Linked DNA regions of Homo sapiens: all the other regions are linked to region 6. The links are contacts of gene promoters, found by promoter capture Hi-C in blood cells and fetal thymus (Javierre and others, 2016). All regions are on one chromosome and are shown on one strand. Each heading gives the region's core, a stretch centred on a gene start or on the middle of the fragment in contact. The rest is flanking DNA. Distances are from core to core; before and after follow the strand shown.

Region 1 (3,472 bases), core at 802-3,301, 590 kb before region 6:
CTATTACAGAAAATCTGGAAAGCATAGAAAAACCCCAGGAAGAAAGCAAAAATCAAATATAATTCTGCACCAAGGAAAACGCCTATAAACATTTTGGTTTTCCTCCCTATATTTTCCAAATGCATATTTTAACATAACTGAGATCACACTATATACACAATTCTGAATCCTGCCTTTTGCACTTAATGTTTCATAAGTATTTCCCCATGTCACTAAAAATTCTTCACAAATAACATTCGCGATGTCCATATGGAATTTCAGATGTGGATGAACCAAAATCTTGTCAACTATTCCACTAACAGTGGTTATTTAGGGATGTTCAGACATTTCACTATTTAAAAAAAAATGTTTCCACAAATACCTTTGTGGCATAAGTTTTTATGAGTGGAGTTACTGTTCTGAAGTTCCTGCTGAATAGAAAATGCTTTCCAGTGAGGCTGTCCCAAGCCACATTCCCATCAGTGACAAGCGAGAGACAGCTGGTCTTTTCAAATCCGGAGACCAAATATTATCTTTGAAAAAAAATGGATTTTTGCCTAATTTGGTAGTCACCAAATAGCATCTCATTGTTCTTTTAATTATCTGCTTCCTTTTAGTAGAGATCCCTAAAAAGATCTGAAAGGAGTCTTCAGATAAAGGAAGGAGCTTTCTTTTGTCTGTCTACAATCAACAAATATTTATTATGCAAACCATTTTGCTCCGAGTTTTCTCCTCTTTCCCTTTTTGGACAGATTTGGGAGATCTCACCTTTCAGGTTTTAGACATCGTGCAGGGAGGAGTTTTGAGGTAGGGTGCAGCTTACGGTCCAGGATAAAACATACTGATTCTGCCACTACCAGGCTTTGTGAAAAGCAAGTCATGAAAACGCTCTGAAATTCTAGACCTTCAGTAGATAGGATCTACCGTGTCTATAAAAATATGAAGATCCTTAAGTTTTATTAAAGATTCGAAAAAAGTAAAAGTGTTTTTACGGTTTTATTTTCATTTTTATTTCTTACCGTTATCGTTTATTATAAAGGATATTATAAAGGATACAGATGAAGAGATACGTAATGCAAGGCCTGTGAGAAGGGGCGTGGAGCTTCCGAAACCTCTTCCAGCCACCACCCTCCAAGAACCTGGAGTTTCTTTTTTTTTTTTTAATTCTACAAATGTAATATTAGAATTGATTTTATCTGGCCATTAGTGTGTGTCCTAACTCGTTCGTTTCTGAGAGTCCCATCTCCCGGCCCGGATATCATCTTTCCTGTGTCAGTGAAAGTGCAGAGTAGATGAGAACCTTTAACCACCAACATTAGGGAGGGGTCCCAGACAAAGGGGGAAAGTCATGCTCTGTAGAGAAAAGGTTCCCTGCCTCCGAACTACCTCTGGAACACTCCAGACTGAAATGTTTCCTCTTTTGATATAGAAAAGAGGGATCGTGTGTAGAGTGCAGTCTGGGCAATCCCTCTCCTCGGGACCATTTCGGGGTGGGGGCCTCTGGGGTCCGTGTCGCGACGCACGCGCCTCGGTCCCAGCTATCTCCGCAGCGGCCACCCCGCCTGCGGACGCAGTTTCTCGGCCCCGCCCCACACTCGCTCCCCCGCCCCACCCAGTCTCCGCGCCGGAGGGAAGTGGCGCGAGGGGGAAAGCACTGTCTGCGCGCCCACTGCAAACCTCAGCCAGTCTGAGATCGCTTTAAACGTCTGACCCCCACCCCCACTCCGCCCCGCCCAGTTCTTCAACCTAATTTCTGATTCGTGCCAAAGCTTGTCCTCTGCTCAAAATCGTGGAAGACGCCGAGTATGGGGACCGAAGACCTGGGTTCAAGCCCGGCTTGGAATCCCTGCCCATCCCTGGCATTTCATCTCTCCGGGCTTATTTGCTGGTTTCTCCGAATGCGGGCCTTGTCTGGTTCACGCTGGATCCCCAACGCCTAGAACAGTGCGTGGCACGCAGTTCGTCCTTCTATAAATATCGGACTAAATGCATCTCTGTGATGGTAATACCCACACGGTGTTGTGAGAATGAATGAGTGATTCTGTGCAAGTTCCTAGTGATCTGTTACAAAAAGTACTGGTCGCTAAATTACTCTTATAATAAAGCATACTTTTAGGATAATAAAGCACTATTCGCGAATTGGTTACCGCTATTATGAAATTACTGAGCAATACATATCTACATCTGATCAGTCTCCAGAATTATGCCAAATCCTACCTTCTTCTGAAAGTATCTCCTAATTATCTGCACCTGACCCTAGTGATGCTGTGAATGTGCAAGTATAGCTACATCCTCCGAAGGAAGGATCTTTACTCCTTTTACCTCCTGAATGGGCTGCGTCTGCTGAAAGCGCGGGGAATGGCGTTGGAAGCTTGGCCCTACTTCCAGCATTGCCGCCTACTGGTTGGGTTACTCCAGCAAGTCACTCCCCTTCCCTGGGCCTCAGTGTCTCTACTGTAGCATTCCCAGGTCTGGAATTCCATCCACTTTAGCAAGGATGGACGCGCCACAGAGAGACGCGTTCCTAGCCCGCGCTTCCCACCTGTCTTCAGGCGCATCCCGCTTCCCTCAAACTTAGGAAATGCCTCTGGGAGGTCCTGTCCGGCTCCGGACTCACTACCGACCACCCGCAAACAGCAGGGTCCCCTGGGCTTCCCAAGCCGCGCACCTCTCCGCCCCGCCCCTGCGCCCTCCTTCCTCGCGTCTGCCCCTCTCCCCCACCCCGCCTTCTCCCTCCCCGCCCCAGCGGCGCATGCGCCGCGCTCGGAGCGTGTTTTTATAAAAGTCCGGCCGCGGCCAGAAACTTCAGTTTGTTGGCTGCGGCAGCAGGTAGCAAAGTGACGCCGAGGGCCTGAGTGCTCCAGTAGCCACCGCATCTGGAGAACCAGCGGTTACCATGGAGGGGATCAGTGTAAGTCCAGTTTCAACCTGCTTTGTCATAAATGTACAAACGTTTGAACTTAGAGCGCAGCCCCTCTCCGAGCGGGCAGAAGCGGCCAGGACATTGGAGGTACCCGTACTCCAAAAAAGGGTCACCGAAAGGAGTTTTCTTGACCATGCCTATATAGTGCGGGTGGGTGGGGGGGGAGCAGGATTGGAATCTTTTTCTCTGTGAGTCGAGGAGAAACGACTGGAAAGAGCGTTCCAGTGGCTGCATGTGTCTCCCCCTTGAGTCCCGCCGCGCGCGGCGGCTTGCACGCTGTTTGCAAACGTAAGAACATTCTGTGCACAAGTGCAGAGAAGGCGTGCGCGCTGCCTCGGGACTCAGACCACCGGTCTCTTCCTTGGGGAAGCGGGGATGTCTTGGAGCGAGTTACATTGTCTGAATTTAGAGGCGGAGGGCGGCGTGCCTGGGCTGAGTTCCCAGGAGGAGATTGCGCCCGCTTTAACTTCGGGGTTAAGCGCCTGGTGACTGTTCTTGACACTGGGTGCGTGTTTGTTAAACTCTGTGCGGCCGACGGAGCTGTGCCAGTCTCCCAGCACAGTAGGCAGA
Region 2 (3,943 bases), core at 951-3,450, 850 kb before region 6:
CAGTTGTATAAGACAGAGAGCCCTCATGCTAGTTTAGTTACTCGTTTGTCACAGTGATTTACACTGGGGCTATTCTTGCTTCATTTTCACTCCAATAATGAGCCATTTATGAAAGACTACATGGTACTTGCCTGTTTTATTGCTACAGAGCCCAGCAAGATCCTCAGAATGTTTTCTCAGCAAGCAGAAGATATCCCTCTACATCTTGGGACATGAAAACAGTTCTTGTAGATGTTCCTGAGATTTATAGGTTTGGCTCAGAGGCAGAGACTCTGGCAATGAGCTGTAGTGGGTCTGCCTCACCAGCAGAGAGTGCCCTGTTGTCACTTTTCTCTCCTATTCTCAGGGCTAGGTTGGATGTCGCTCTAGAGCTTGGGCAGAACCAAGAGTCAAGGACGGTACACAAATGGGTTTTTTGTTTTTGGTTTTTAAAGAATGCCTCCTAGCATGATGTCAGACTTGCACCATACATAATTATTTTGCTTTGGGCAATGTCCTTTGACCCAAACTATTGTCAATCCTAACCAAAGAGTAATTTTCTGAATGTTGTGCTTTCATTATTATGACAGCTGCTCATGTTTGCAAACCACTTATTTCAAAACAACACATCATTCAGATCTCCATGATTACAGATGCAGGGACAAGGAGAGAGAAGTGACTCTCTCACTAGCCCATCAGGGCTCCTAGTTCTGACAAGATGGTCATAGCTATGGGCTTCCCATTCCAAAGGCCCACTCCCACCAGCATTCCCTCCGCTCATCTAATTCCAGTCTTCCCAATCATCTTCTTCCAATGGGAGGATAATGGTGACAAATACTCCAGGTCACAGAGCTTTCACCTATGTTAATGGAATGAAGAGGTTGGGTCATTCCTGTGGCCAAAATCTTAATTTAAAGCTGGGGTGGCTGTAGCTCAGATGGTCTATAGCCATGCCTCTGAATTTTATCTGTGTGTAAGACTTACTGGTTCATCAGAACAGATGCTGTCCAAACCTCTTGTCGCAGCCACCACTTTCTTCTTTCACCTCTCTCCAAAGTCTCCCATATCACACTGCCATCCATTTGGTTAGTAGTTTTCATGCACAATCCTTTCCATTTTTCATCACACTTTCACTGCATGATCTCATTAGAATCTCATAATGCAAACTCAAGGTAAGTAGAGAAGGTGTTAATGAGCTTTTCCACTTACCCCAGGCAATAGTTACTCTGTTCTGTGTTCCCATATGTTGCATATTCCTTTATTATAGACATTTTTGCTATAGTGTAGTTATTCCTTTACCAAGTTCTACCACTGTGTGTTTCCTTAAGGCAAGAGTACAGATCTATCTTAACAGGCTTATTGCAGCACCCACCCCCGCCCCCCGCCAAAGCTTTGCAAAGTCCTTGAGATATAGTAAGTATTGAATAAATGTTTGTTGATTTGAATTACTATACCCATTTGACAGATAAGATAATCAAGTCATACAGAGGAGCTAAATAATACAGATGCTACAGCTACTGCTTGAAATGAGTAATGGAAGAACAGGGGATAGTACATGTATGGGCCAACTCGAGGAATAAACAATCAAAGAGAAAACATCTATTGCATTCTGACTCTGGAACAAATGCCCTGAAGAGATATAAAGATAAAATAACAAGACATGATCATAGTCTGAGACTCTCGTCCAGTGACTGGTGGGCCCCTTTAACTACTCTGTATCTCAGTTTTAACTCATTCAAGTGAGCAGGCTGAAGGATAAGATCTATTATGGCTCATTTGCATAGGCTCCTCAGTATTCTGGTTGAGGAAATGCTACGTATCATCTATTTGCACAGATGGACTATAGACATGCCAGCATACGTATGGCCATGGGATTAACAAAACATGCCACATGGGCAAATAGAATCAGGTTGAAAGAGCAGTCCAGACCACCCTGAAAAAAAAAAAAAAAGGCCTAAAGGAAGAGAGAACTTGGAGAACTGAAGAGTGAAGCAGGCTTTATAAGAAGTGAGGCCAGGGCTGTGGCTAAAGTTGAAATTTATACAGGCAAGAATGACTGACGGGGTGGAAATGAATGGAGGGGGTACACAAAGTGTGTGTATTTAGAGGACAGTAATATCAGGAAGCAGGGCAACTACTTTTCCAGTGGTCTATGCCTGGATGTGAAGGGAGGTGTTTGAGGAAAAAAGAAAGCCTGTCTCCACTTCAGTCCAGTGTTATTTCATCTCTCATCTGAACTCCATTCCTGTTTCATTTATCTTGCTGGTCTCCCAATCTAAATTAGGTTTTGCCCCATTGTACAGTCTCACAGCATTCTGAACTTTAACGTCACAGCAAAAATCTTAATTATACATGCAAGTAAGCTGTTCTTTCTCTATTGCCTCTGTCTCCTGCAGGACTGAAAGGTCTTTGAGAGCAAGACCTGCAACTGTTTTATTCACTGCTGAATCCCTTGCACCTAGCATATAGTAGGTGTGCAGTAAATGTCCAGTGAACTACTACATGAAAATCAGGAATATATGAAAAACATGTCTGTCTGATGGCAGGGCCGCCTTCCAGGGCACAGTTGCTCTGGCTGCCTGGGCAGCTTAACTCAAAGTCAAGTGAGGTCGTCAGTGACAGGTGCAACCACCACCCAGGCCGAAACTTTGGAGTTTGAGTGTCACGGAGAGTGAGAATGTCCTATTTCTGTTTGAGAAACACCACCACCAAGTTTCGTCAGCAGACCCTGCCTTTGACGCTGCACCACATCCCCTCCCCATTTCCTCTCAGTCAAAACGGAAGATGCTTTTCTTTCCAAACAAACTTCTCTTGAGCTTCAGGGCCCTCCCAGACCTCCCTAAACCCACCAATCCCAGCACCCTGCCTCCTACTCAGTCCTGCAATGAGTGACTTTGTCTGTACTCATTCAGATCCATACACACCCTGTGGTCGGCTGTGTTTGTTTCTGTTTTTAAAGGGCTGAAGCAACTGAGTCTCAGAAAGAGCAGGTGACTTCTTGAAGGTCACACAGCTAAAAGCCCCGTCAAGGGCATCCAGAGCATAAAGCTTTGTCATGACGCTAGTTGCTATTTAAGTGCTTGCTAGACTCTGCTAAGTGCTTCCTCACATGACCCCTGCCGATCCTCACACCAGCCCTGTGAGATGAGTATATTATGAAGCCCAGTTTATCAGAAGGCCTAAGTCACGAATTAGTTGGATAACCAGCTCAGGGTCACTCTGCTTGAAGTCACAGATCTGATTCTAACTCGGGACCGAAGCTGACCACATAGCCTCAACTCTCCCCTACATACTCATCACATGGCTGCTGGATGATTTTTCTCTGCTTCAGATTCTCACTTATTCCACTGGACGCTCCTTGAGCAATGGAGTCACATGGTGGGACAGGTGGCCCCTGGTCACTGAAAGGCATTCCACCCAGAGGGACCCAACTTCAGGAAGTAACAACCTCTAGCACCCCCACACCTGCCTCCCTACTTTTCTCCACGCCCCTTCTTTCTTGCTCTCCCATCCACTGCAGGCCCCCACCAGGCCTTTCCTCCCTGAACCCAAACTCTCCTCCTCCCAATTATCTTCACACCAAACTCAGCTGGTTTTCTAGGGGGATGCACCTGACAAGCACATTGACTGTGACTAGCACAGCACCTACCCCAAATATGGGGCATCCCTTTACAATTCAAGCACATCTTATTTCAGCCAAATCTACAGGGACCATTTCTGTCAATTCTGTAGTAAAAATTTTATAGCCCGGGGAGTTTCTCCACCAGGGGCACATGTACTTGCATTTTAACACAGAAAAACCTTAGGAGGGAGAAGAAGGCCCCAAACATGAAGGCTGTAAATATGGATGTTCACCTCTTAACCTCTCCTGGCCCCAGCCCTCTGAAGCTGGAGACTTAAGAATAGCTGCTATAGGGGGCCAGACATGATAGCTCAAACCTGTAATCCCAGCACTTTGGGAGGC
Region 3 (3,732 bases), core at 444-2,943, 600 kb after region 6:
ATTCAATATTGCTGAAAAGCAGTACTGATTAAGAGAATAAGGCTTGACTTCCATAGAGTAACTACATTATACTTAAACAATATACTGAAAATGGTTAACATAACCGGCATTTAAAAAATTATTTAGTGGGGAGTACCTGAGCATTATGAATGTTTCTAAAAAAGAAAAAATATCAGCCGAGCGTGGTGGCTCATGCCTGTAATCCCAGCACTTCGGGATGCCAAGACGGGCGGATCACCTGAGGTCAGGAGTTTGAGACCAACAGGTCAGGAGTTCAAGATTAACACATGGTGAAACCCCGTCTCTACTAAAATACAAAAAAATTAGCCAGGTATGGTGGCACACACCTGTAATCCTAACCACTTGGGAGGCTGAGGCAGGGGAATCGCTTGAACCTGGGAGGCGGAGGTTGCAGCGAGCACCACTGCACTCCAGGCTGGGTGACAGAGTGAGACTGTCTGAAAAAAAACAAAAAAGAAAAAATGAAAAAAACCAACTTATAAAGTATACTTAGTATTTCATAGTTAAGGCTCTATCTACTCTCTCTTATATAGACACAGCTCCTAACAGCCTACAATAAATACTAAAAAATACCACTCTAAGTCCCAGCTACCTGGGAGGCTGAGGTGGGAGGACTGCTTGAGTCCATGGGTTTGAGGCTAGCCTGAGCAACAGAGTGAGATCCCTTCTCTTAAAAAACCAAAAGGACAAAAAATGACTTGTATTGTGAAACAAGAACATTAACATTGCACAGGAATTCAAATATACTACATAAATGTTACAAAAGGCCACTTTCCTTCGAACAGATTATCACGAAGATGGCAGTACTCCCCAAATTTATCTACAGATTCAATGTCATCCCTATAAAAATCCCAGCTTCTTTTGTAGAAACTGATGAGCTTGATCCTAAAATTCACATGGAAATACAAGGGACTAAGAATAGCCAAAACAATCTTGAAAAAGCACAAAGTTGGAAGACTCATATTTCCTAAATTCAAAAGTTATTACAAAGCTACAGTAATCAAGACTATGTGGTCTGCATAAGGGGATGGAATAGAATCCAGAGTCCAGAAATAAATGCTTACATTTATGATCCATTGATTTTCACTAACAATCCCAAGAAAATTCAGTGGGAGAAAGAACTCTTTTCAGCAAATGGTGCTGGGACAACTGTATATTCAAATACCAAAAAAAAAAAAAAAAAAAAAAAAAGATCCGGGCATGGTGGCTTATGCCTGTAATCCTAGCACTTTGGGAGGCCAAGGCAGGCAAATCACGAGGTCAGGAGATCGAGACCATCCTGGCTAACACGGTGAAACCCCGTCTCTACTAAAAATACAAAAAATCAGCCGGGCGTGGCGGCAGGCACCTGTAGTCCCAGCTACTTGGGAGGCTGAGACAGGAGAATGGCGTGAACTTGGGAGGTGGAGCACGCAGTGAGCCCAGATGGCGCCACTGCACTCCAGCCTGAGGGACAGAGTGAGATGTCTCAAAAAAAAAAAAAATTCAAATCCTTATTTACATCATACATAAAAACTAACTCTAAAGGAATCACAGACCTAAATGTAAGAGCTAAATCTATAAAACTCTTGGAAGAAAAGACAAATAAATCTTTATGACTCTAGTTTAGGTAAAGGTTTCTTAGATATGCTATCAAGAACACAAGTTACAGAAGAAAAATATTAATAAACTGGATGCTTGTGCTGCAAATACCACCAAGAACATAAAAATGACAATGCATAGAATAGGGGATATCATTTCACACTGTTAGGATGGCTACGATAAAAAAAAGACGAGAAAAGTGATGATATTGCAACCCTCACACATTTTGAGAACACAAAATGGTATGGCTACTTTGGAAAACAGTTCGGCAGTTCCTCAAAATGTTTCTTAAAAGCTATCCAAAAAGATTATTGGAGTCTAAAGTTACCATACCAATCCAGCAATTCCACTCTCATGTAACTCTCACCCGTAAGAAATGAAAACATATGTTCACATAAAAACTTGTACATGAATGTTCATAGCAGCATTATTCATAATAGCCAGTGGAATGGCTGTTAAGTGTAATCAACCCAAATGTCCATCAGCTGATAAATGGATAAATAAAAAGAGGTACAGCCACATGACGAATAGAATATTAATTACTCTGCAGTAAAAAGGAATGAAGTACTAACACATTCTACACCATGAACGGACCTTGAAAACATGCTTCGTGAAAGACCATATATACATGATTCCATTTATATGAAATGTCCAGAATGGGCAAATCTATGGAGACAGAAAATAATTTAGGGGTTGCCCAGGGTTGGGAAGGGGAGTGGGACTGGTGAACTGCTGCTTACAGCAACCAGGTTTCTTTTTGGGGTGATAAAAATATTCTAAACTGAGATTGTGGTGATAGTTGTACAACTTCGTGTGAGCCACTGAATTATGCATTCTAAATAGGTGGATTTTACGGTATATGAATTGTATCTCTCTCTCTCTCTTTTTTTTTTAAGGAGCTAACGTTAAAGACATCTATTTAGGCCAGGCGGGGTGGCTCATGCCTGTAATCCCAGCACTTTGGGAGGCCAAGCCAGGCGGATCACTTGAAGTCAGGAGTTCGAGACCAGGCTGGCCAACATGGTAAAACCCTGCCATTACTAAAAATACAAAAATTAGCCAGGCATGGTGGTGCATGCCTGTAATCCCAGCTACTCAGGGAGGGTGAGGCAGGAGAATCACTTGAACCCAGGAGGTGGAGGCTGGAGCGAGCTGAGATTGCACCACTGCACTCCAGCCTGGGTAACACAGCAAGATTCCGTCTCAAAAAAAAAAAAAAGGCATCTATTTATTAGTTCTCTCTCTCTCTCTCTCTCTCTGTTTTTGAGACAGGGTCTTGCTCTGTCACCTAGGCTGGAGTGCAGTGGCGTGAACGTGGCTCACTGCAGCCTCAACCTCCTGGGCTCAAGCGATTTTCCTGCCTCAGCCTCCCAAGTAGCTGGGACTACAGGCGCACACCAAGATGCCGGGCTAATTTTTTTTTAAATTAATTTTTGTAGAGACAGGGTCTCGCCAAGTTGCCCAGGCTGGTCTTGAAGTCCTGGTTTCAATCCTCCCACCTCTGTCTCCCAAAGTGCTGGGATTACAGGTGTGAGCCACCATGCCTGGCCAGATCTCCATAGATGTAGTGTGCATGCACTAACAAAAGAAATTTCAAGGAAACCGAAAGCCTAATCATAACGTAACAAATACTAATAAACAATATGCATCTTAACCATGTGTAACTTTATCACACATTTGTTAATTTAAAAGTAGAATCAGGTTTTGTTTTGAGAATATCAATTTCTTAAACAGCAAATAACTTTTTGGCATTTACATTATGCAATTATATTATTTTTTAAAAAGCAATTGTTTCATAAAATTATTAATTTGTTTGGGTAACAAAAATAATTTTAACAGATATTTAAGTCTACATAAAGTGAACCATATCAACTCAAACAGTTACTCACACTAGGCATTCAAAACCCCAATCATGGAGCTATAGCAACACAAAGTAACTGAAATATCTACCTTGGGGTGGGGGTGTGGAAATACCTGGTATCCTCTCTGAATCCTTGCATCATTTAAAGATTACCCCCAAACCCTCAGAATTTTCTCTTCCTGCCCTCTCAGGTATTTCTTTTTAAGCATGGAACTATATAAAGTTTCATTATCTTCCGATTTTTGGCCACAGAAGAAACATCTTTCCCA
Region 4 (3,741 bases), core at 226-2,725, 790 kb after region 6:
CAAGAACCGCACCTAGAGCACCATGGGGATGACCTCATGTCATCCTTGCAACAGCCCAGCTCTGGTTACCTAGCCCATTTTATGGATTAGAACCCTGAGGCTCAAGGGGGCTAAATTTGGCACCCCAAATCACATAACTAGTCCATGGCAGGGGTGGCACAGGATATGAACAAAGGACTGTGTACATTCCTACTGCCTATGTATGTCTGTGCAGCAGCCAGCCAAGAGGCATGTGTTATGTGATGCTTACTATTTATTACTTCTCTACAACAGGGATAAGATAATGATGATGACAATGATAACTCCCAGCCTTGTGATAGGACTTGAGCTTCATTATCTCACAATAGCCCCATAAGGGGTATAGTTGGGGCCCCCACCAGATACACTTTAATCTGCCAGGCACCACCCCGTAGCTGAGTGTTGGCTGCTCACAGGTTGCAGCTGCTTCCTTCTTCTGAATGCTCAGCTAAGGGGAGCCACCTTGCCTAGAAATGCCTGCTTTCCCCCTAGGGGTGGCCACAGACAATGAGTGACAGATATGGGGTGCAAAAGTCTGGTGCCTTGTCTCAAGGTTGCATAACTTTGTGGTGTTCTTCATGCTATGGTGGGATCAGGCTGAGGTGGGATCAGACTGAGAGGTTAAAATGCAGCTGAATCTACATTTTTCTTGGCTTCCTTTTTCTTTCTATCTTGCCACTCACATTCTCTTTCTGAGATCACTTGCACCAAGAATCTGTGTCTCAGGTCCTGCTTCTATAGAACTTCAGACAAGCCCTATGAATCCAGAACTATTGTCCATATTTTGCTGAGCGGGAGCGTGAAGCTGGAGGTGGCTGTCCCCACTTCATCTTGTCCTAGAGATGTGGCATGTCTCTGACCTCCTTAGCCGTGTTGGGAGTGTTCATCTGCAGTGCCCCTCTTTGAAACCACTGCCTCCCAAGGACCAGAGGTGCAATCTCATGGGCTGTGCTCCTCTGGGCCCACTCTTTTTTATCTTCATTCTTTCCCTGGCTTCTGTCTCATCCTGGTTGCCCATCACCCATCATGAACCATGGCCATGGGACACTCTCAGACAAGCTGGAGGCTGAGGTAACCATGAATTTGCCTTGCCCAGCATGATTTTCTTCCTGTGCCTTCTCCTGATAGTAATCCTGCCCTCCAGCTTTGCCCACAGTGTGGACACATGACCCAGGCTGAACCAGGGCACCATCCCTGGCTGGTTACAGAGATTGGCTCAGAAATGAGCACATTGCAGGAACATAAGTCCCTGGATGACCTTGGCCGACCCAGCTCTTCCCCTTCTTGCTTTTCATTCCTAGACAGAAACTACTGAAAATCCTGTAATAAGGAGGAAATGTCTGGAGCAATCCAGGCTACATTCTTATTCCTTCTAGAATAGGATGTTCTGCAGTGCTTGCATTCAGTGGTCCAAGTGGTACCCAGGGTATATAAACCCAGGATGGAGTGCTTTCAGAGTCCCTCAGCTAGAGTGTAATGTGAGGCATGCTTAGACTGCATCTGCCCTTGGCAGCATTCCTGAACCCTGGGGAACTGCTCATGGTGGACCCTGGGTTTCTGTTGATTTTTGCTGCTTAACTGTGAGTAACAAAGTTGCTTTTCATAAATTGTGCCAATGTTCTGTCTTCCCAGACTAGACCAAAAAATGCAAGTGGTGAGGGATTGGGGCTCCTTTTTTCTCCTTGCAACTGTCCTGATGGCGTGGGGACTGCTGCAGCAGCCAGGGCTGCTTTGAGCCCCAGAGTAAGAACCCTCGCAGAACTCTGGAAGCTGGGTTTGTGCAAAACCTCCTGCCAGACTTGAACTTTGCATACATTATCAAGCCAGGATAATTAGAGCCCTTCCTTGGGACTGTTTTATAGAAACTAAGGGAAAGGACAGCCTCCTGCCTCTCGAGTTTTTAGAAGGATTCAAATCTAGGGCTGTCAGCATTCATCTTTCCTGCCATGTGGGAAAGACCCTTCGGAGGTAATATACAGTATGCCGACATTCAGGAAGTGACAGCAGCAAGGCGTGGAGAGAGTAAACAGCAGTCTAACAACAGTGATGCAGTTCAGGGTCTGCCACACCTGGTGCACCCTGTCCTTCCTGCTGACACAAGCCAGCATAGGCTCTGTCATCGATTTCTGTCTGTTTCACCTTGAGATTATCCTGGCTTATCTGGGTGGCTTTATTTTAATCACAAAGATCCTTATAAGAAGAAAGCAGGGGAATCAGAGTCAGAGAGAAGAAGGCTAACTGGCAATAAAAACAGAGATTGGAGCAATTCAGCCAGGAGCCAAGGAGTGACGGCCACCTTTAGAAGCTGGAGGATGCAAGGAAACAAATTCTCTCCTGGAGTCTCCAGAGAAAATCAGCTTTGCTGACACCCCCATAAGATGATTTCAGCCCCATAAGACTCATTTCCAGCTTCTGACTCCCAGAATTGTAAGAGAATAAATTTGTGCCGTTTCAAGCCTCCAAGTCTGCAGTAATTTGTTACGGAGCAATAACAAATGAGCACACACCACTGCACCTCAAGTTTCTCACTTGTAAATTGGAAGTCTTGCCAAATTTAGCTGACCTGTGAGGCCTCATCTAACTCTCTTTTTCGTATTTGCATTCTATAATTATTCTCTTGGCTTTCTTTTGGGCTAGGCAGAATAAGTATCTATAGTATCTATCAGCTGGCTTTTTCAGACATTCAGAAATTGAGGAGCAGTGAGGTATAAGAAGGACACACAGCTCTGGCCAAGGCGAACCAGAACCCAGTCACTCATCTCTTCAGTTCTGTTAGATTACAAAGTCATAGAAGAGGTCTTTCTTGCTTATGTTTTGTTTGGATAAGAATAATTTGGGCCAATCCCAATGGCATTGGCATCATGAGATGACAACACAAGGTCAGACTAAGGGAGGACTTGAAAGTCAGAGTCAAGGTGATGAATAGCAGCCCTTCCCAACAGGCATTGAGTGTTAGAACCAATTATCAAGTTTATAAACAGCCACAAAGCTTCACAGTTTCCCAAGGTGGCACAGACACTTGCACACATGGGATTACTACTTTAGAATTAAAGTACTATGAGGACTTTTTCCCCCGACTTATTAAGGGGCCTTTTCATCTGAAGATCTTGATGTCCATTTCTGCCCAGTGAGAACTTAGAATTTTCAGTCTTCACCTGAGAAAAGAGGAAGAAAAACATCACAGAGGAGAAAGAGGAACAAAAATTTCCACCCTTATGTAAAGGTTCCTTAAACAACTGTGTTGAAACAGGGTCCTTAAACAACAGTAGTGAAAAGGACTACACTGAGTTATTTTAATAGGGTCATTGTTAATTCACTCTTTTTTCATTAAATCAGTAAATATTTTTCCACTTTATAAATGTCTGTCTACCTTATCCCAGGCACTGTTCTAAGCATTCGTGATACATTTTTGAATAAAAGTGGCAACCCCTCTCATCCACATGGGCCACACATTCTTAGGATGTCTGATGGAGCGTGGCATTACTGATTGTGAAAAGCTGATGGCTGTGGAATTAGAGGGCTTCCTCAGGTTCATTCCTGGGAGGTGAGTCACATTGTCAGCCTGTGTCTCCAGCAGCCATTCCTCCTTCCCCACTGTATTGCAAATATATTCTTAAATTTTCTGTATATTATGATGTTTTGACATCATCAAACATTAAACCCATTTTGGGTCCAGGGGAGACTGCCCCTCTGGGGCTAGCCAATTCCTAGAGATAACAAAAG
Region 5 (3,534 bases), core at 669-3,168, 580 kb after region 6:
CCAAATATACTTCCTAGCTATCAACACTATTAATATATTAGCAAACTATCTTCATTGTAAATTTCTACCAACTTTCTTAAAATTCTGATTACAATCAAATGACCCACTTTTCCAAAGTAGTGTGGTTTTGATGAACTAATAATGTCATTAATAGTTACTAGCCACTCTCAAATATTCATCAGTCAAATACATCAGAATATTATATAATATTAATAATGCCAATTCCACCTCAATACTGGGGGAACCTCTATTAATAGAGACTACAGGTTCATTTTGTAATAGCAAGCTTTTTTGTAAACTATTCTAAGCCAATGTTAAGATCGACACTTCAGACAAGCTATAATTTAACCATTAATCTTTCAAGATGTAATTTCCTTGACAATGTCATGACTAGTCCCTGCTAAAGTCTCATGAGCTTTTTCATCCAGTTTGGATGAAAAAAACCCTAATGCCCAGACCTTTACTTCCTCATTTGAAAAAAAAAGAAAAAAAAAAAGACTATTTTTCTACTTTTGGGTCCAACATTAACAAAACTGTTTTGACTCAATTTCTGTTAACAACTTGGTTGTAAAACATTAAATACACTTCAAGTTCTGGTCCAAAATCTCGTACACAAAATGTAAGCTTTGTTTTTCTTAAGTATCCTACTGTATTAAATTTTATAGCAGAACAACAAAAGAATCTGTTAAATAATCCATTAACATAATTAATTAGCTATATGCACAAAAATCACAGTATGTGCCTAAAATAGAGGCCCTTCTCTCTCAAAGCTACTGTCTAAGCCAATGTTCTTTTCTGGAACACAATCATTAAGTGAATTATTTCAGTAAGTAATAAGAATAGTAGTATCACTTCACTCTACAATTCAGATAAATCTTCATGTCTTTTTTTTTCCCCCCAGACAGGGTTTCCTCTGTTGCCCAGGCTGGAGAGCAGTAGCATTATCACAGCTCACTACAACCTTGACGTCTCAGGCTCAGGTGATCCTCCCACCTTAGCCTCCACAGTAGTTGGGTCTATAGGAGTGCGCCACCATGCCCGGTTTGTGTGTATTTTTAGTAGAAACGTGGTTTTGCCATGTTGCTCAGGCTGGGCTCAAACTCCTGTGCTCAAGATATGTGAGTGACTGCACCCGGCCACACCTTCATGTCTTTAATTTTGAATTGCCTTTTTGTGACTGACACAGAAAAAAAAGCTGCTGCAAAACATGGTGAAAGTCTTAACATATCAGTTCTCCAAGATTCCTATTCAATTGCTCTCCAAATTAACAAACTTTACTTTTCAGAATGGAAATGAGGTAGCTCCTCCTGTGTCAAAAAACCCCACATAAACCACAACCTAACCTCTGACCTAAAGACAGGATAAAAGGCAGATTACTTTTCTGTGATCTTTTTACTTCAGCACCAGGTATATAAACTATTTTTATTACGATTATGCCTACTGGCTGGGTGTGGTGGTTCACGCCTGTAATCCTAACACTTTGAGGCCAAGGTGGGTGGATCATGAGGTCAGGAGTTCAAGACCAGCCTGGCCAACATGGTGAAAACCCTATCTCTACTAAAAATACAAAAATTAGCCAGGCGTGGTGGCAGGCACCTGTAATCCCAGCTACTCAGGAGGCTGAGGCAGAGAACTGCTTGAACCCGGGAGGCGGAGGGTGCAGCGAGCCGAGATTGCGCCACCGCACTCTATAGCCTGGGCGACTGAGACTCTGTCCCCCACCCCCCCCCCGAAAAAAAAATTTTGCCTACCTAATCTTAATCTAGTGACTATTAAACTAAAACAATGACCTAGATAACCTGATTTTTCAAGCTATAGAACAGATAAGCCCTCACTGAGTTTTAGATGTCATTTCAACTCATTGAAGACTTCCTTTCCTCTGGATAAACTCTGAAAAAGCCTCTAACAATTTAAGAAAAACATTATAATCATGCAGCAATAATACAGCATGAGATATATATTCTGGGATAATTTTTTCCAGGTGGAAAACAAAATAGAAAAGGATGAAACAAAGAAGCATATTTCACAAATAAGAACAGGCAAACTATGGATAATTGGCCAAATATGGCTGGCCACCTATTTTTGTCAACAAAAGTTTTACTGGAACACAGTCACACCCAATCAGTTACAAATTGCCTATGGCTGCTTTCTGGCTGCAATGGTATAGTTGTATAGTTGCAACAGAGACCTTATAGTTCACAAACTCTAAAATAGTGTTACTCTTTGCAGACCCCTATCTTAAAGAAACATCAGGTGGGGCACAGAGGCTCAAACCTGTAATCCCAGCCCTTTGGGAGGCTAAGACAGGTGGACTGCAAAACCCCATCTCTACTAAAAATACAAAACTTAGCTGGGCGTGGTGGCATGCGCCTATGGTCCCAGCTCCTCAGGAGGCTGAGGCAGGAGAATCGCTTGAACCTGGGAGGCAGAGGTTGCAGTGAGCCCAGGTTGCACCACTGCGCTCCAGCTTGGGGGGCAGAGTGAGTATCTGTCTCAAAAAACAAAACAACACAAAACAAGGCCAGGCACAGTGGCTCAAGCCTGTAATCCCAGCACTTTGGGAGGACAAGGTGGGCAGATCATCTGAGGTGAGGAGTTTGAGACCAGCCTGGCCAACATGGTGAAACCCCATCTCTACTAAAAACACAAAAACTAGTTGGGTGTGGTGGCTCGTGCCTGCAGTCCCAGCGACTTGGGAGGCTGAGGCAGGAGAATTGCTTGAACTCGGGAGGTGGAGGTTGCGGTGAGCCAAGATTGCACCACTGCACTCCAGCCTTGGCGACAGAGTGAGACTGACTCAAAAAAAAAAAAAAGTGTTATCTATTTTCTTGCTGAAATCTACAGTACGTGGTTAAAATGCCCTAATCCCAAGAATCTCCCATTTCTGGCCGGCTTCTTTTACTTCTCAACCAGAGGAATTTCTCATCAAAACATCCCCAAAATTCCACGTTCCTAATTAACAGAACACACACCCACAATTTCTCCTTGTGTATTCATATTTAACAATGTAAGGCAACAATGGTAATACAGAGCAAGAAACACAATCCCCTGAAAATCCCTTTCGTTTACTGCTTCACAGTTAACACTCAACTTTCAGTATACACATTTAAAACTCAACAGAATTAGTATACTTTAAATCACTATTCTTATCTTGTCAGCTTATGGAATTCTAAACCTTACTTATTTATTTTTTAAGTCCTGAAAAAGCTTTAGATATTTGGTGGTAGTTAATATATACCCAGGCTGGAGTAGAGCAGTGCCTTCAAGGCTTACCGCAGCCCTGACTTCCCGTGCTCAAGTGATCATCCCGCCTCAGCCTCCCAAGTAGCTGAGACTATAGGCACGCACCACCACACCCAGTCAATTTTTAACTTTTTTTTTGTAGAGACAGGGTCTATGTTGCCCAGCCTGGTCTTGAACTCCTGGGCTCAAGTGATCCTCCTGCCTCAGCCTCCTACAGTGCTGGGATTACAGGTATGAGCACAGCTTCCAGACTCTATTTTTTTTTCTTTAGGCTGATGAATTGTTGTTTTC
Region 6 (3,965 bases), core at 219-2,718:
AATTTTATCTCTGATCACAGTTATGTCTACTACAGACTATAGAATCCATGATTTAAAGACATATTCTTCCAGGCATAAAAGCAGAGTGGTATTTGAAAAGACGAGCGTACTCCATCAAAATGTGATGAAGAAATCATAACAGAATGCCCTAAAAATAGCCAAATATGCCAAATTTTTAGAAATTGAGACGTGTCCAATTATTCCTGTCAGACTGGTATCCTATTACTTAGAAGATCTTGTTTCACATATTATAAATGGGTAGACTTTCAGTTTGACTTTAATCATCTTTTCATTTAAAAGTTTTTGTCATCAATGATATTTAAGCTAAAAAAGGTTTCTTACAGTTACAATTAGGTAAACTATAACCATGAAGATATATATATATATATTTAGAAAATTTTATTAGAAAAACCATTTGCTGTTCACTAATCCTAATTTGGAAAGCACCTCTTCTTCACCTTTTACTTAACTATCCCAGGACAATTACACACGGAGCATGATAGTCCCAATAATTTAAGTTTCTTTATAAAAACAAGCTCAACAGAGTCACCCTTTGCACCTAGTCACAGCAACAAAAGAAAACAAAACACCAAAAAACTTCAAAGCCCACAAAGATTTGTTGGCAGCCTAAGGCTCAGGAATCAAAACGTGTGTAAATCTGATCCCGGGGGACCGTGGCACTGACAGTCATTCAACTTTCTTTTTAATATTCCCATTGTGCTTTTTCTGGTACCACAGGGAAAATGTACCTACATTTTACCAACCGGTCGAAGCTGAAAATTCTCTTGGTGCAAGGCCAGGGGATGCGGCCGTGGGGCGGCCGGGGGAGCCCGGGGCACCGGCGCCAGCCACACGAGAGAGCAGTACCACGCTCTTGGCAGGCCTGCTGTGGCTGGCTCCCGAGTCCCTGGGGCTGCAAGAGCAGCCGCGGAGGCAGCAGCAGCAGCCATGGCAGGGACTCGGAAACCTTTCCCCTGCCTCCTCCGCTAGGCCTCGAGGGGTTTGCTTTTCACATGGCCCCCGGGTGGGGGCGGTGGGCACAAGGCAGTGGCTGCAGCTGCAGCCGGAGCCGCAGCCGCGGGCCAGGCGAGCCTGGCTCACTCGGAACCCGACCTAACGGCGGGCTGGCAGCAGCGGGACGTCAGAAGGCCCTGGCTGAAGCGCCGACGACCCGGCGGGGAAGGCCACCTTTCCACACACCACATCTCTCCCCTGCCTGCCTCCTTCTCCGTTAGCGCTACCGGTTGGCGGGCGGGGGAGGGGAGCAAGGCGCGTTATTCCCGGGGAGCTGGACGGGGGAGGGAAGGGCATCTCTTACCCGCGTTACTGAGGAGGAGGAGGCGGTTGGAGCGCGGCGCGGCGGGGCGACGGCGGGGCTGGGTGGGTGCAAGTAAGAGTCTTACGAAAGGGAATTAACCCCATCACCAGCCCGGACACCGGCTCCAGCGGCAGCCGCGGCTGGCAGAATCCCGCCCCTTCCCACCACGCACTAGCCCCGCCTCTTCGTTCTCTTTGAGCGGCAGCCGACTATTCATAGGTTGTACGTCCCCGGAGTGACATGAGTTTTGCCCAATCAAGCTTGAAAAAAACTGTCTTCTCTCCACCCCTTTACCTCCTCCCAGGCCGCGGAGAGCCGTGCCAAATCTTCCTCCAACCTCAAGAGAAAAAGAACCAATCCGTGGTAAGTAACCGCCCTTGAAGGACGCAAAAGCCAACCAATGGTAAAACTAGGAGGACAGCCATTTTGCCCACTTGTAAAAGAGCTACCTTTTCCCACGAGTTGGAGCCTGAGGTGCGGAGTTTCGTGAGTTTTTACTGACTCGAGGTATTTAAAAGACAACCAGATCTCCTCAGTGGGTATTTATAGTGCTTTTTAGGGGTAAAGGAAAATTATCCTCCATGTGGGGCGAAGTGAGGCATGCTGCTTAAGGGGTTGGCTCCTCCCCTTAGCGCTAACGGGTTCTGAAACGAACACCTGGTTTCTCCAGCTTCAGTGGCGGAGGGCGGGGTGATTGCTCTTTTCGGCCTGGAGCGGACTACGATTCCCAACATGCTTTTCCCCTACTCATAACTTCTCCTCCGTTCACTTGTCGCGGTGCTTGGCTGGAATTGTAGTTCCTGAGAGGTACCCATGCCGCCGCTTCAGCCAATGAAAAGGGACAGAGTTTTGAATGACTTGAAATTAGGGCGGAGAACGAGTTGTCGCGAGGCTGTACAGAGCCCTTTTCGCAACCCTAACGGGAGAGAAGTGATGGAAGAAGGGTAGCCGGAAGAGTTTCCTCAAAATACCATAGGGGTTTTAAATTATTAGTACGTATTTAAACTCATCTACTTTCACGTTGTCCCGTTGAACGTCACTTCCGCTTAGGGGCGGACACGTCCCAAACCTGTGGCGGGAGTTGGAGATTCTGCGGCGAATACGCCAGGTGTGACTGGCTGGAAGTGGCGTGGCTGGCAAGTCGCTAGTTTCTTGCATGGGAGATAAAAAGTTGAACGGAATTTAATGGCATTTTAAGAAAGAGTGGGTGACATGGGATGGGGGTAATTTCCAGGGCCCTTATTACTTTCTCCACCCCGGCCTTCAATCGCGGGCGTCTCGGCCTGCTCGCTATTAGATTGCACGGCTAAATTTGTAGAAAGTACCTCTACTGCCTTTAGTCTTCGCGTGGTCAGTTTGAACTGTAAAGACAGGGCTCCGAAGTTCTGAACTACATTTACAGACACACTTTTTTTTTTTTTTTTTGAGACGGAGTCTTGCTCTGTCCCCAGGCTGGAGTGCAGTGGTGGGATCTTGGCTCACTGATTCACGCCATTCTCCTGTCTCAGCCTCCGGAGTAGCTGGGATTACAGGCGCGCGCCACTCAGCCCAGCTAATTTTTTGTATTTTTAGTAGAGACGGGGTTTCACCATGTTGGCCAGGATGGTCTCGATCTCCTGACCTCGTGATCCGCCCACCTTGGCCTCCCAAAGTGCTGGGATTACAGGCGTGAGCCACCGCGCCCGGCCACAAACACACTTCTAAAGTCAGCTTGGAAGGAAAAGAGTCACAGAAAAGGGCTTTTCTGTTTGAAGGATTGATAATCAAGAGTGGCCCCATCACCACTCTTTGAGTAACGACCATTTATTAAACGAGTGGCAGACAGGCGCGGTGGCTCAGACCTGTAATCCTAGCACTTTGGGAGGCCGAGGCGGGAGGATTACTTGAGGTCAGGAGTTCGAGACCAGCCTGGGCAACATGGTGAAATCTTGTGTCTGCTAAAAACTCACACACACACATTAGCCGGACGTGGTGGCAGAGATCTGTAGGATCTGTAGTCCCAGCTACACGGGAGGCTGAGGCAGGAGAATCGCTTCAACTTCGGAAGTGGTTACAGTGACCCGAGATCGCGCCACTGCACTCCAGCCTCGGGTGACAGAGCGAGACTCCGTCTCAAAACAAAAACAAAAACAAAAAACGTGTGACTACAGGGTGCCAACTATAATACACCGATGAATAAAGGCATCACTAAAAAGATGCCTTTATTCATCGGCCACATGGAGCCCACAGCCTAATAATCTTAGCACGTAAGGCCCTGATTTATGCCTCCTTCAGAGTTCAAGGGCGACTGTATGTATACTTTTGGACATTCCATTTAAGGTACCCAGGAAAACTGATTGAATAAAGAAGATACAAGTTACAGAAAAGGGTTTTTCCCTCCCTATGCGTGTGCCCTTTATTCTTAAACTCTTTGCTTTATTATTTTGACTGAGACTTTCTCAGATAAATTCTAATTCAGTTTACTCCATGATTTTACTGAGATTTTCTCTTATAAATCCTGTTGTATTTATGGTATGAGCGCTTAACACTGTATTGGGTACTATACCAGACTTTGGGTAGAGCAGTGCCTAAAAAGACAGGCTCCTTGTCCAAAAGTTGTGAGGAAGAGAGAGGCTAAACAAAATTGTAATGTCACTTACTGTTTCAA
Region 7 (3,998 bases), core at 858-3,357, 620 kb after region 6:
GACTTTTTAAAAATAAACTTTAATGTTTTTAGGTTGTGAGCAGTTTTTTATTTTCAGAAATGGAAACTTCAATTTACCTTTTTTCAATTTTGATTGGGAAAAATCTTCATAATGGTCTCTTTAAGTTAAACAAATTTAAAGCTGGTATTTGTCTTGGTATGTTAATCTAAAGTGATTACCTTGAATACAGATTTAAGCTTTTTGGTCAGGGAATATGAATTAGGCTGAGCCAGTACTGGCTTTCTTTTTAGGGGATATAGGAGAAGGTACTGTACAACGGAAAGAGAAAGATGCTTGGATGGCTATGAGTGGTTGTTTCTCCTTTGGAATCTGGTGGTGTTGGGAGTGTTTTAAAAAGGTTGTTTTTGGAGAAGTGCTTGCAGTAGATAAGGAAGGAGAGAAAACACTGAAAAGGTGATTTTCCTGAGTGACTTTTCTAGATTCTGGGTTGTGAGCAGATTCACTGTGTAAGCAATATTGTTCCAGGGCCAGGCAATCAAATATGGTACTGAGGAGATTATTCTCTTTACCTTTGCTTAGAACCCTGTGCTGCTAATGGCATCTGAGAAGAATGTCTGCTGTCACCAAATTACACCCCTGGTATGGACATTGCCAGATTGGTTTGTGAATATATATAAGGCATTTGTTACGGGCTGAATTGTGTCCCAAAAGTCCTAACCCCAAGTAGCTCAGAATGTGACTATATTTGGATGCAGGTTCTTTTAAGTGGGAATTAAGTTAAAATGAGATCATTAGGGTGGGCCCTAATCCAGTATGACTGGTGTCCTAGAAGAAGAGTCAGTCATGATGTAGACATGTACAGAGGAAAGACCATATGAAGACACAGGGAGAAGACACCCATCTATTAGCCAAGGAGAAGGGCTTACTAGGCGGGTGAGCCAAGAAGAAAGGCTCACGAGGATAGTGAAGACTCAAGTCATTGTAGATAGTCACAAATTTGTGAGGCCTTGCCATTTGGATTACACTCAGAACTGCATGAATTCCTAACATACTCGGTGAAGATTGATTTCCGGTTCCTTTCTTTGCTCATTTTAGGAGGAAGACCTGTTTACTTATTTTTATTTTACTATTTATTTATCCAGTGAATGCTAGTAGAGATGTTACTGTGTGCTAGGAAATTCAAACTGCATAAGTCTGCACACTCGACTTTCCCTTTTGTGTGTCTCAAAGGCATTAATAATCAATATTTCCCCAAACTAAACTCATAATCCTGTCTTTCCAACCTGGTCTTCTCTCTGTGCCTCTTGTAGTAAAATGGCACTACTTCCAGTTATGCAAGTCCGAAACTTAGGGGTCATCTTTGGTATCTGTAATCCTTATCTCCCGTATCTAACCCATCACCAAAGCCTTTCTGTTGACCCTTATTATCTCTGGAGTCTATTACGTATGTTTCTCCACCAGCAACACTACCACCATCTTGGCCCAAGCTATTTCACTTAAGCTCCCCTGCAAGCTGTTGTCATCCTGCAGCCTGCCAGAGGAATCTTTTCAAAATTGAATTCTATCCCACAGGAGCAGGATTAAAAAAAATCAGCTCTAATTAATGCCATCCCCTACTTAAAAACCTTCTCATTGCTTTTCTTTGTTGTTGTTGTTATTATTTGTTTGTTTTCTTTTGGTATTGTTTTTTGACTTAAAACAAGAGAAATTTATTATCTCTCAATTCTAAAGGCCAGAAGTCTAAAATCAATGTGTTGGCAGGGACTATGGTTTGAATGATTGTCCTCTCCCAAACTCATGTTGAAATTTAATCCCCAATGTGGCAGTATTGAGAGGTGATTGGGTCATGAGGGCAGAGCCCTCATGAATGGATTAATAGGTTAATGGATTAATGGGTTATCATGGTAATGGAACTGGTCGGCTTTATAAGAAGAGGAAGAGACTGGAGCTAGCACGTTCAGCTCCCTTGCCATATGATGCCCTGTACTATCTTGGGATTCTGCAGAGTCCCCACCAGTAAGAAGGCCCTCACCAGATGTGGCCCCTCAACCTGGGACTTCTCAGCCTCTGTAACTCTAAGAAGTAATTACTGTTTCAGGTATCCTGCTATGAGCAATGAAAACTGGACTAAAACAGCAGGGCTGTGCTCCCTCTGAAGACTATTGGGGAGAATCTGTTTCTAGGCTCTTCAGCTTTTGGTGACTCTAGGCCTTTCTTGGCTTGTGACCGTAAGACTCCAATCCATGCTTCTTTGCTTCCAACTCTTGTTGTTTTTTTTTTAATTTTTAATTTTTGTGGGTGCATAGTAGTGTGGGGTACATGAGATATTTTGATACAGGTATGCAATGCTTATTAATCACATCTTGGTAAATTGGGTATCCATCCCCCTCATGCGTTTATCCTTTGTGTCACAGACAACTCAATTATATACTTTTAGTTATTTTTAAATGTATAATTAAATTATTATTGACTATAATAGTCACCTATTGTGCTATCACATATGAGGTCTTATTCATTTTTTCTAACTACTTTTGGTACCCATGAGCCATCCCCATTCCCCAATTATCCACTCCAGTCTCTAGTAATCATCCTTTTACTCTTTATGTCTGTAAATTCAATTATTTTAATTTTTGCTCCCACAAATAAGTGAGAACATGCAAAGTTTGTCTTTCTGTGCCTGGCTTATTTCACTTAACATAATGACCTCCAGTTCCATCGTTGTTGCAAATGACAGGATCTCATCCTTTTTTATGGCTGAATAGTACTCCATTGTATATATGTACCACAGTTTGTTTAATCATTCATCTGTTGGTGAATACTTAGGTTGCTTCCAAACCTTGGCTATTGTGAACACAGCTGCAACAAATATGAGAGTGCAGATATCCTTTTGATATACTGTCTTCCTTTCTTTTGGGTATGTACCCAGCAGTGGGATTACTAGATCACATGGTAGCTCTATTTTTAGTTTTTTGAGGAACCTCCAAACTGTTGTCCATAGTGGTTGTACTAATTTACATTCCCACCAACAATGGACAAGAGTTCCCTTTTCTCCACATCCTTGCCAGCATTTGTTATTGGTTGTCTTTTGGAAAAATGCCATTTTTACTGGGGTGAGATGATATCTGACTATAGTTTTGATTTGCATTTCTCTGATGAGCCATGATACTGAGGACATTTTCATATGCCTGTCTACCATTTGTATGTCTTCTTTTGAGAAATGTCTATTCAAATCTTTTGCCCATTTCAAAATCAGATTATTAAATTTTTTTCTTGTAGAGTTGTTTGAGCACGTTATAGATTCTGGTTCTTAATCCCTTGTCAGATGGGTAGTTTGCAAATGTTTTCTCCCATTTGTGAGTTCTCACAGCTTTTCAACATATAAAATTCCTCAACTGACTTATGGCCTCACATGAGCTTGTCACTTTTTACCAAGAATGTCTTCCTTTGTCATCTTCAGCCACAGTGGTTTTCTTTCTTGCTGTGTTCTCTCCTGCCTGTTCCGTGGTGAGCAGGTCTGTGCAAACCCACCCCCAAGGTGAGAGGCTGAAGAAAGAGGCTGACAAATTCAGTTTCTCAGAAAGAAATATTTAATAGGCTCTTACAAACAGAAGTGATATCTGGGATAACCATGCAATGGTGGGTCCCTGCATTCACTGTCCAGAAAGTATCCTTTGTATGGCAAGCTGATTACATCTCAGACTTTCTTGCTGAAACTCGTGACTACTGGGGAGGTTAGATAAGCATCTTTATGCAGGGCTATGTATGCTACAGGCATTGCTTAAAGACCTTGCTGCAGAACACCTTGGTATGCTGTGGTCAAACATCAGTTATCATGGCGAGTCTCCTTCCAGATGGAGTCACTCTTGCCATACAATGGCTGTTTTCCTACACAGACACAAGGCTTCATTTATCCTGTTTCTCCTGCCTGGAATACTCTTCCCTTCCCTTTTTACCTTTTAGCTGTTGTTTGCTTTCAGATCCTAGCTCAAGCAAAACTTTTTTCTGAAAAATCTTTCTCCGACTCTGACTAGGACAAA

The links. The method cuts DNA at HindIII sites, captures the fragments that hold promoters and counts their contacts. A CHiCAGO score of 5 or more calls a contact.
Region 1: a contact is called between a fragment that was not itself captured here and the fragment with the promoter of R3HDM1 in region 6, in 1 of 17 cell types (fetal thymus). The highest score is 7.1, in fetal thymus.
Region 2: a fragment that was not itself captured here is called in contact with the fragment with the promoter of R3HDM1 in region 6 in 4 of 17 cell types (fetal thymus, naive CD4 T cells, activated CD4 T cells and 1 more); the score reaches 11.1 in fetal thymus.
Region 3: a contact is called between a fragment that was not itself captured here and the fragment with the promoter of R3HDM1 in region 6, in 9 of 17 cell types (activated CD4 T cells, total CD8 T cells, erythroblasts and 6 more). The highest score is 10.2, in activated CD4 T cells.
Region 4: a fragment that was not itself captured here is called in contact with the fragment with the promoter of R3HDM1 in region 6 in 1 of 17 cell types (monocytes); the score reaches 6.2 in monocytes.
Region 5: a fragment that was not itself captured here is called in contact with the fragment with the promoter of R3HDM1 in region 6 in 9 of 17 cell types (naive CD8 T cells, total B cells, erythroblasts and 6 more); the score reaches 8.4 in naive CD8 T cells.
Region 7: a contact is called between a fragment that was not itself captured here and the fragment with the promoter of R3HDM1 in region 6, in 1 of 17 cell types (non-activated CD4 T cells). The highest score is 6.5, in non-activated CD4 T cells.

What each region holds. Positions count from the first base shown.
Region 1 is chr2:136,117,464-136,120,935 of GRCh38, reverse strand. It overlaps CXCR4 (C-X-C motif chemokine receptor 4), which reads left to right and starts at 2,787. Exons shown (of 2, transcript NM_003467.3): 1 at 2,787-2,890. The coding sequence starts at 2,876. The HindIII fragment of the contact is 602 bases long and covers 1,751-2,352 here.
Region 2 is chr2:136,381,226-136,385,168 of GRCh38, reverse strand. No RefSeq gene overlaps it. Among named protein-coding and RNA genes, the nearest start is that of CXCR4, 270 kb to the right of the region's middle. The HindIII fragment of the contact is 1,658 bases long and covers 1,372-3,029 here.
Region 3 is chr2:134,928,743-134,932,474 of GRCh38, reverse strand. All of the region lies in intron 2 of CCNT2 (cyclin T2), which reads right to left. Among named protein-coding and RNA genes, the nearest start is that of CCNT2, 12 kb to the right of the region's middle. The HindIII fragment of the contact is 7,188 bases long and covers 1-3,732 here.
Region 4 is chr2:134,736,153-134,739,893 of GRCh38, reverse strand. No RefSeq gene overlaps it. Among named protein-coding and RNA genes, the nearest start is that of TMEM163, 19 kb to the right of the region's middle. RefSeq lists an enhancer at 1-108. The HindIII fragment of the contact is 3,069 bases long and covers 1-3,009 here.
Region 5 is chr2:134,948,000-134,951,533 of GRCh38, reverse strand. All of the region lies in intron 7 of CCNT2 (cyclin T2), which reads right to left. Among named protein-coding and RNA genes, the nearest start is that of CCNT2, 31 kb to the right of the region's middle. The HindIII fragment of the contact is 2,583 bases long and covers 627-3,209 here.
Region 6 is chr2:135,528,987-135,532,951 of GRCh38, reverse strand. It overlaps R3HDM1 (R3H domain containing 1), which reads right to left and starts at 1,468. Exons shown (of 27, transcript NM_001378107.1): 1 at 1,319-1,468. It overlaps ZRANB3 (zinc finger RANBP2-type containing 3), which reads left to right and starts at 1,734. Exons shown (of 21, transcript NM_032143.4): 1 at 1,734-1,825. RefSeq lists a silencer at 1,302-1,491 and enhancers at 1,459-1,753, 1,722-1,991, 2,342-2,421. The HindIII fragment of the contact is 3,394 bases long and covers 1-1,580 here.
Region 7 is chr2:134,906,666-134,910,663 of GRCh38, reverse strand. The region is part of intron 1 of CCNT2-AS1 (CCNT2 antisense RNA 1); the gene reads left to right. Among named protein-coding and RNA genes, the nearest start is that of CCNT2-AS1, 9.9 kb to the left of the region's middle. The HindIII fragment of the contact is 3,815 bases long and covers 200-3,998 here.